2 separate regions of the Homo sapiens genome follow, and region 1 is linked to region 2. Evidence: promoter capture Hi-C in 16 types of primary human blood cells and fetal thymus (Javierre and others, 2016). All regions are on one chromosome and are shown on one strand. The core of a region is centred on a gene start or on the middle of the fragment in contact, and the rest is flanking DNA. Distances in the headings are between cores, read along the strand shown. Region 1 overlaps SYT5 (synaptotagmin 5). Region 2 holds the start of TMEM190 (transmembrane protein 190).

Evidence for each region. The method cuts DNA at HindIII sites, captures the fragments that hold promoters and counts their contacts. A CHiCAGO score of 5 or more calls a contact.
Region 1: a fragment that was not itself captured here is called in contact with the fragment with the promoter of TMEM190 in region 2 in 7 of 17 cell types (M0 macrophages, activated CD4 T cells, naive CD8 T cells and 4 more); the score reaches 9.6 in M0 macrophages.

Annotation. Positions count from the first base shown.
Region 1 is chr19:55,168,407-55,172,793 of GRCh38, reverse strand. SYT5 (synaptotagmin 5) reads left to right here. Exons shown (of 9, transcript NM_003180.3): 9 at 1-1,598. Among named protein-coding and RNA genes, the nearest start is that of DNAAF3, 4.0 kb to the right of the region's middle. The HindIII fragment of the contact is 869 bases long and covers 1,339-2,207 here.
Region 2 is chr19:55,374,052-55,378,416 of GRCh38, reverse strand. It overlaps TMEM190 (transmembrane protein 190), which reads right to left and starts at 1,591. Exons shown (of 5, transcript NM_139172.3): 1 at 1,506-1,591; 2 at 1,391-1,426; 3 at 699-824; 4 at 531-615; 5 at 171-442. The coding sequence starts at 1,563. The coding sequence ends at 214. RefSeq lists a silencer at 3,645-3,866. The HindIII fragment of the contact is 5,299 bases long and covers 1-2,755 here.

The DNA of each region.
Region 1 (4,387 bases), core at 524-3,023, 210 kb after region 2:
ACCCATGACTCACATCGATTTTCATACCCATTTCTGCATCCCTCCCTCCCTCTCTTTTTTTTCTTCCTTCCATTCCATATTCCCTGAGGTCTTCTGTTGAGTGCTGGGGCCCCAGAATATCCAAACACAGACCTGACCCCCCAAGCGACTTACTGCCATCAAAACAAAGGAGAGGCGCGGAGCCAGGGAATACAATCTCCAGAGCCTGCGAGAGAGGTTGGAGTTCAGCAAGGAAAGCCAATGATTTCAACTTCACCTCTTTCTTTTTTCTTTTCTTTTTTCCTTTTTGTTTTCTTTCTGTCTTTCCTTTTCTTTCTTTTTCTCTTGTTTTTTTTTTGTTTGTTTGTTTTTTTGTTTTTGTTTTTGTTTTTTTGAGATGAAGTCTCACTTTGTCGCCCAGGCTGGAGTGCAGTGGCACGATTTCGGCTCACTGCAAGCTCCTCCTCCCGGGTTCACGCCATTCTCCTGCCTCAGCCTCCCGAGCAGCTGGGACTACAGGCGCCCGCCACCACACCCGGCTAATTTTTTTGTATTTTTAGTAGAGACGGCATTTCACCGTGTTAGCCAGGATGATCTCGATCTCCTGACCTCGTGATCCGCCCGCCTCGGCCTCCCAATGTGCTAGGATTACAGGCGTGAGCCACCGCGCCCGGCCCTTCTTCTTTTCTTTTCTTTTCTATTTCTTTTCTTCTCTTCTTCTTTTTTTTAATTTTGAGACGGAGTTTCGCTGTTGTTGCCCAGAATGGAGGGCAATGGTGCAATCTCGGCTCACCGCAACCCCTGCCTCCCGGGTTCAAGCGATTCTTCTGCCTCAGCCTCTTCTTTCTTCTTTTTTTGACAGGGTTTCTCTGTGTACCCTGGCTGGAGTGCGGTGGGGCAATCATAGCTCACTGCAGCCTCAACCTCCTGGGCTCAGGGGATCCTCCTGCCTCAGACTCCTGAGTAGCTGGGACCACAGGCACATGCAACCATGCCTAGCTAATTTTTTCTTTTCTTTTCTTTTCTTTTTTAGAGATGGGGTCTTGCTATGTTGCACAGGCTGGTTTCAAACTCCTGCAATCCTCCTGTGTGAGTAGCTGGGACTGTAGACATGAGCCGCCGCATCTGACCTCATTGTTCTTTCAACGAATGCTGCCTCCTACTCTGTTTCTAGCAAAGATGATAGTTCCATTGGCTTCTACCTTATCTCATCCCATACAGAATTTTGGGTGGTGAACAAAGACCTATAAGATTTGGCCAGAGAACTCTCTGAGCAGCAGATTAAGTGGAGAATGAGGCAAAAATTACCCCCACGTACCAAAAAAGGAGGCAGCAAACAAACTTACTTGCTCCTAAGCTTCCTGGTAGCCAATCGGGAAAGTGAAAATAGAACAGCTACACAGATTATAATATCCATGAGATTTTTAATTTTTCTCCAAAGGAATTCAGTAACTTTTCATGTGTGTGAGTGTGTGTGTGTGTGTGTGTGTGTGTGTGTGTGTGTGTGTGGCTGTAGAGCATGTCTTTATGAAGACAGCCCTTTATGTTACTACTATTACTGCCAATAATAATCCTCACAGCAAACTCATGAAATAAACATGATCATTATTCCCAGTTGACAAATGAGTCCAAACTGTGCTTTAGAAAATTTGGGGCTGGGCGTAGTGGCTCACGCCTGTAATCCCAGCACTTTGGGAGGCTGAGGTGGGCGGATCACCTATGGTCAGGAATTCAAGACCAGCTGGGCCAACATGCTGAAACCCTGTCTCTACTAAAAATACAAAAATTAACTGGGTGTCGTGGCAAGCACCTGTAATCCCAGCTACTAGGGAGGCTGAGGCAGGAGACTCGCTTGAACCCAGGAGGTGGAGGTTGCAGTGAGTCGAGATCGCGCCATTGCACTCCAGCCTGGACAACAAGAGCAAAACTCCATCTAAAAAAAGAGAGAGAGAGAGAGAGAGAGAATTCCTGTGAAATGCTCAGAATCACACAGCCAGAGAGCCTGTCTCTAAATCCTGGGATTGATTTAGATGATGGCAATGGGGTCCTTGGGTCTCTGTCTCAACAAGAAAGCAGAGCGATAGAAGAATAAAACCATTACAAATGGCCGTCCACACTGGGACCAAAACGTAAAAAGGCTGACATAACTTAGGGAGGGTGGTCAGGGGCAGCCTTGCTGAGGAGGTGCGGTCTGGGCCATGACTTGAATGACAAGAAGGAACGAAGCTTGCAAAGGTTAGGGAGAACAACAGTGGAATATTATTTGGTCATAAAAACAGAAGAAAGCATTGATTCATGCTTCAGCATAGATGAGTCCTGAAAATATTATGCCAAGTGAAGGAAGCCGGATACAGAAGGCTGCATAGTGCAGTATTCCATCCAAAAGAAATCTCCTGCACTGACAAATACATAGAGACAGAAAGTAGATTCGTGGTTGCCAGGGACAGAGGAGAGAGAAATGGGGAGATAAATGGGGTACGTGTTTTCTTTTGGAGTGATGAGAAAGTTCTGGAATTAGACAGTGGTGATGGTTGCACAGCATTGCAAGTGTACTAAATGTCATTCCCAATCAACTTAATAGTGTGTGTGTTTTACACCAATTTAAAAAGAAAACAAGGCCAAGCACGATGGCTCATGCCTTAATCCTAGCACTTTGGGAGGCAGGAGGATTGCTTGGGGCCCAGGGTTAGACACCAGCCTGGATAACCTCTCTATTTTTAAAATTTGTAAAGTTAGCTAGGTATGCTGGCACGTGGCTATAGTTCTAGCTACTTGGGGAGCAGAGGTGGGAGGATCGATTGAGCCCAGGAGTTTCAGGCTGGAGTACTCCAGCCTAGGCAACAGAGCAAGTCCCTGCCTTAAATAAATAAATAAATAAATACAGCCGGGCGCAGTGGCTCACGCCTGTAATCTCAGAATTTTGGGAGGCCAAGGCCGGCGGATCACTTGAGGTCGGGAGTTTGAGACCAGCCTGACCAACACGGAGAAACCCTGTCTCTACTAAAAATACAAAATTAGCTGGGCGTGATGGCACATGCCTGTAGTCCCAGCTACTCAGGAGGCTGAGGCAGGAGAATGGCTTGAACCCGGCAGGTGGACGTTGCAGTGAGCCGAGATAGCGCCATTGCACTCCAACCTGGGCAACAAGAGTGAAACTCCATCTCAAATAAGTAAATAAATAACAGCCTGGGCAACTAGTGAGACCCTTTCTCTACATAAATAAATAAATAAATATCCGGGCATGGCGGCACTTGCCTGTGGTCCCAGCTACTCAGGGGACTGAGGTGGGAGGACTGCTTGAGCCTGAGAGGTTGAGGCTGCAGTGAGCTATGATCACACCACTGAACTCAAGTCTGGATAACAGAGCAAGACTTTGTCTCAAAAATAAATATATAGAAAACAAAGATGAGGGGGAAGATAATTTAAGGCAAAAGAATCCCAAGTTGCAAAGGCCCTGGGGTTCAAACGGCTTGGTGTGTTCTCCAAGGAGCCAGGAGGCTGATGTGGCTTCAGGGGTGGATGACTGCAGATTGCATAGGGCATAGGGAGCCAAGCTAAGGAGCGGGGAATGTGTCCAGGTGCAGCGGGAAGACTTTGGAGGATTTGAAGAGGTGGGAGACATTATTTGATTTATGTTTAAGATCACTCTGGGCCAGGTGCAGTGGCTCACACCGGTAATTCCAGCACTTTGGGAGGCTGAGGCCGGCGGAACTCTTGAAGTCAGGAGTTCGAGACCAGCCTGGCTAACATGGTGAAACCCCGTCTCTACTAAAAATAAAAAAGAATCGCTGGAGCTGGGCACGGTGGCTCACGCCTGTAATCCTAGCGCTTTGGGAGGCCAAGGCAGGTGGATTGCCTGAGCTCAGGAATTCGAGACCAGCCTGGGCAACACGGTGAAACCTCGTCTCTACTAAAATACAAAAAATTAGCTGGGCGTGGCAGCGTGCGCCTGTAATCCCAGCTACTTGGGAGGCTGAGGCAGGAGAATTGCTAGAACCCGGGAAGCGGAGGTTGCAGTGAGCCAAGATCGTGCCACTGCACTCCAGCCTGGGCGACAGAGCAAGACTCCGTCTCTAAAAAAAAAATAATAAATAAATAAATCGCCTGGCTCGGTGGTTCACACCTGTAATCCCAACACTTTGAGAGACCAAGGCGGGCAGATCACCTGAGGTCGTGAGTTGGAGACCAGCCTGACCAACACGGAGAAACCCTGTCTCTACAAAAAATACAAAATTAGCCGGGCGTCCTGGCGCCTGCCTGTAATCCCAGCTACTCGGGAGGCTGAGGCAGAAGAATGGCTTGAACCCGGGAGGCGGAGGTTGCGGTGAGCCGAGATCGCGCCATTGCACTCCAGCCTGGGCAACAAGAGTGAAACTCTCTCTCTCTCTCTCTCTCTCTCTCTCTCTCT
Region 2 (4,365 bases), core at 342-2,841:
TCCCAGATCTCTCTCATTCCAGGCTCCCCCTCAGCTCACACCCCCACGACCACAGCCTGGCGCCCCCTAAGCCTCCATCCCCAAGCCCCCTCCAGCCCCCACCTGTTACCCCAGCCTCTGTGTGCACCATGCCCCCTGCTCCCCACGGCTTTCAGAGAAGAGAACACACGTCCGTCCACCGTATCTGTATTGAGCAGTCCCCCGGGGACTCCCCTAATCCTCCTCTTCCTCGCCCTCTGTCTCCTCACCCTCCTCCGTCCCTTCCCCCTCGGTGCCTCCCTCCACATCCCTGGACTCTTTGGACAGGGCGACTGGCACGCTGCCCGTGGACGGCGTCTTCTTGGTCCCTCGGTGCTTGGAGAGCAGCGAGACGGACTTGGACATGTCACACGGACCCGCCAGGAAACCGGGCATATGCAGCACGTCCCGGCGCTTGGCCCACCTGCAGGGAGCGGACGGCTCAGCCCCCGCCCTCCGCCGGACCCTCCCCCTGGGGGTGCAGGCGCCCGCCCTATCCCAGGCCCACTCGCCAGAACAAGCAGATGCTGCAGCTCAGGAGGAGGAGGCCGCTGCACGTCCAGACCAGCGCCCACATGTGCTTCCTCCGCACGTTTTCTGGACAAGGGAGGCAGGGTTAAGACCCGGGGCTCCCGACCGCCAGACCCACGCCCCAGGGACCTGGGGCCAGGAGCCCTCACCGTCTGGACGCTGGTGGTAGCAGACCCCATTGCGGTAGCAGCACCGGAGACGCAGGCAGAGGTTGGGGCTATCGATGGCCGCCTGGCCCCCACAGCTCTCCCGGTCCCATATGTCACCCTCACAGCCTGGGGACCAACCACCAGTGGCTTGCTTCATCACAGCGCTCCGCTCCGAAGGCCTCATACACGAGATTCCAAGGCCATGCTCCCAGGCTGCCTTCCTGGTGCTTACTCTGTGCAGGGCCCCAGGGGTCCAGACTCCACCCCCTCCTCCCTCAGACCCAGGAGTCCAGGCCCCAGCCCCCTCCTTCAGACCCAGGAGTCCAGGCCCAGCCCCTCCTCCCTCAGACCCAGGAGTCCAGGCCCCAGCCCCCTCCTTCAGACCCAGGAGTCCAGGCCCAGCCCCTCCTCCCTCAGACCCAGGAGTCCAGGCCCCAGCCCCTCCTCCCTCACACCCAGGAGTCCAGGTCCAGCCCTCCTCCCTCAGACCAAGGAATCCAGGACCCCAGCCCCTCCTCCCTCAGATCCAGGGATCCAGGCCCCCAGCCCCTCCTCCCTCAGACCCAGGAGTCCAGACCCCCCCGTCCTCCCTCAGATCCAGGAGTCCAGGCCCCAGCTCCTCCTCCCTCAGATTCAGGGGTCTGATCTGGGCTCCCCTCCCTGGGTGACCCAGTATTTCAGCGGCTGCTCACTCCATGGGTAGAAGAATCCCTGGATTCCATTTCCGTCTGCGAGAGAAAGGGCAGTGTTAGGGCTGTGTGGAGCCGGGCGTCCCTCCTCAGCTCCCCCGCCTCACCAGCCCCTCACCTGCCGAGCCCTGCAGCAGCAGGAGCAGGCCCAGCGCTGGGATCCCACAGCCCAACATGTCACCTCCCCAGACCCCTGGGGCCACTGTGGGAAGAGGCCTTACAGGACATCACCCCAGCAACCGGCCCCGCCCGCCTGCCCGCCAGGCCCCAGGATTGTGAGTTCTGTTGCTAGGGAGTCAGGGGTGTGCTACGGACGTGGAAGGGCTTCACACCAGCCTGGCCATGCCTGGTCTAGGGTGTTGATTCTTTAGGGACCTGGTGGAAGAGTGGGGGCGTCTCAGGTTTAGAAGAGCCTCTTTGGCCACTTATGGTGGGAAAGAGAAGTCTGGAAGGGCGTGGGAGTCTGGGGCGTGTCTCCATATCACCCGGGGCGCCCTGAGGGGTGGGGAACTGGGAGGCTTTGCTAGGGAGTTTCTTTCCTAAGGAAACTGATACCTGAGAAGGTGGATTCGGGTGGCCCGAAGGTTCAGGAAACCCCGTTGCTAGGGAGTTTTTCGCCTTAACAACCAGGGGAAGGGGAGCTGTGAGACACAGAGGCCTCACTGAGCCCCATTGTTAGGGAAAGTCCCCCCCGCAATGAGAAGACCTGGGAGGGGGATGAGACAAGGGGCCGGAGCCTAAGTCCGGGGGTCTCCTGGTCCAGGGGTCTTGAGAAAGGCTTTTCATCTCAGCCCTGCCAGGCCTGCTGTCTAGGGAATGTTTAGCAGGGAAGGTGATAGGGCTGGGCGCGGTGGCTCACGCCTATAACCCCAGCACTTTGGGAAGCCAAGGCAGGCGGGTCACCTGAGGTCAGGAGTTCGAGACCAGACTGGCCAACATGGGGAAGCCCCGTCCCTACTAAAAATACAAAAATCAGCTGGGCGTGGTGATTACTTGCCTGTAATCCCAGCTACTCGGGAGGCTGAGGCAGGAGGATTGCTTGAACCCAGGAGGTGGAGGTTGCTTGAACCCAGAAAGTGGAGGTTACAGTGAGTCGAGATCGTGCCACTGCACTCTAGCCTGGGTGAAGGAGTGAGACTCTGTGTCAAAAAAAAAAAAGAAAAAAGAAAAAAAAAACAAACAGGGAAGGGGACAGGCCATGTGGGCCCCTGCTGAGTTTGAGGGCCTGGTGGGCCAGAGCTGCTCGGAGACTGTAATGGTGGCTCCTGGACAGGGAGCCCACATTTCCCTCCTGGATTTGTTTCCCCATCTGTGAACAGAGGTTAGGGAGTGGTGGGAGGGAGTCGGCTAAACGGAGATCCTGAAGCTTCCACATTGATTCCCCCCACCACTCCCCAGTGACTGAGAGAAAACTTGGCTTCCAAGAAGAGGAAACCGGAATGGGGGGCTGGGTTGGAACCATAATCCCTAGTGCACCCCAACTCATCCATTCAGCTTTGCAGCACAGTGAGGAGGGAGTCTTAGCTCCCTGGGACAGTCTCTGGGCTAGAAGTCCTGCATCTGAAGGAAAAGGGGGTTGTAAACTCAGACACCTGCATTAGAGGGAGAAGGGGCTGGAGCCTGGACTCCTGGGTCTGAGGGAGGAGGGGCTGGGGGCCTGGACTCCCGGGTCTGAGGGAGGAGGGGCTAGAGCCTGGACTCCTGGGTCTGAGGGAGGAGGGGCTGGGGGCCTGGACTCCTGGGTCTGAGGGAGGAGGGGCTGGGGGTTCCCAGACTCCTGGGTCTGAGGGAGAAGGGGCGGGAGCCTGGACTCCTGGGTCTGAGGGAGGAGGGGCTGGGGCCCTGGACTCCTGGGTCTGAGGGAGGAGGGGCTGGGGGGTCCCGGACTCCTGGGTCTGAGGGAGGAGGGGCTGGGGGCCTGGACTCCTGGGTCTGAGGGAGGAGGAGCTGGGGGGTCCGGGTCCGGGACTCCTGGGTCTGAGGGAGGAGGGGCTGGGGGCCTGGACTCCTGGGTCTGAGGGAGGAGGAGCTGGGGGGTCCCGGACTCCTGGGTCTGAGGGAGGAGGGGCTGGGGGCCTGGACTCCTGGGTCTGAGGGAGGAGGGGCTGGGGGGTCCCAGACTCCTAGGTCTGAGGGCTGGACTCCCAGGTCTGAAGGATGGGGCTGGGAGCCAGAATTGGGTCTGAGGGAGGAATGCCTGGGGACCTGGACTCCTGGGTCTGAGGGAGGAGGGGCTGGGGGCCTGAACTTGTGAGTCTGGGAGGATGGTCTAGGAGCCAGACCCCATTTCTCAGGAAGCCCCGTGGGGTGACTCCCCGTGTTACCCATCTCTCCTGTAAACATCCTGGTGGGTACTGAGTGGGCCCCGGGCTGCCTTCGTCAGAGATGACACAGGTTAGAGGGGGCTCTGCAGGGGGCCGGGGGTGAGGGTCAGAGGGGTTGTGGGGCTGAGGCCGGGCAGCTGCTGACCGTTTCCTGTGTCAACATCATCTGGACCCACTTCCCAATTCCCGGGATTCCTCAGGGATCAAGGAGGGGGTGGGGGGCGGGGCCGCCTGGCCTTGGACCGCGGCTTGGGACTGGGGGGGCCCCGCCGTCACGGCCCTCACCGCTAATGACAGGTTTGGGCTGCCTCTGTGGCCGGCCTGCCCCGTCACCCCCCAGAGGCCAGACGGGACCCCCCAGGGACTGACAGACGGACACACACACAGCCTGGGACCTGCTGACCTCACACCCTGCCGGCTCGGCTTCCCCCCGGGGCCGCGCGGGAGCCAGGACTCCCTGGCCATCCCCCATGTCCCCGAGGCTTCTCCTCAGTGTCTGTGACCACCCCAGGGCCTGGGCCCTGGCTGCCCAGTCTGTTTCCGAGCCTCCAAGCTGGTCTCTAGCTTCCACTGGGTTCCGTGGCGCTGGCTGCCTCCTGGGGCCTTTGCTGCCCCTGTCTCTCCAGCTCTGTTTGTCTCTGTCATCTGTCATTT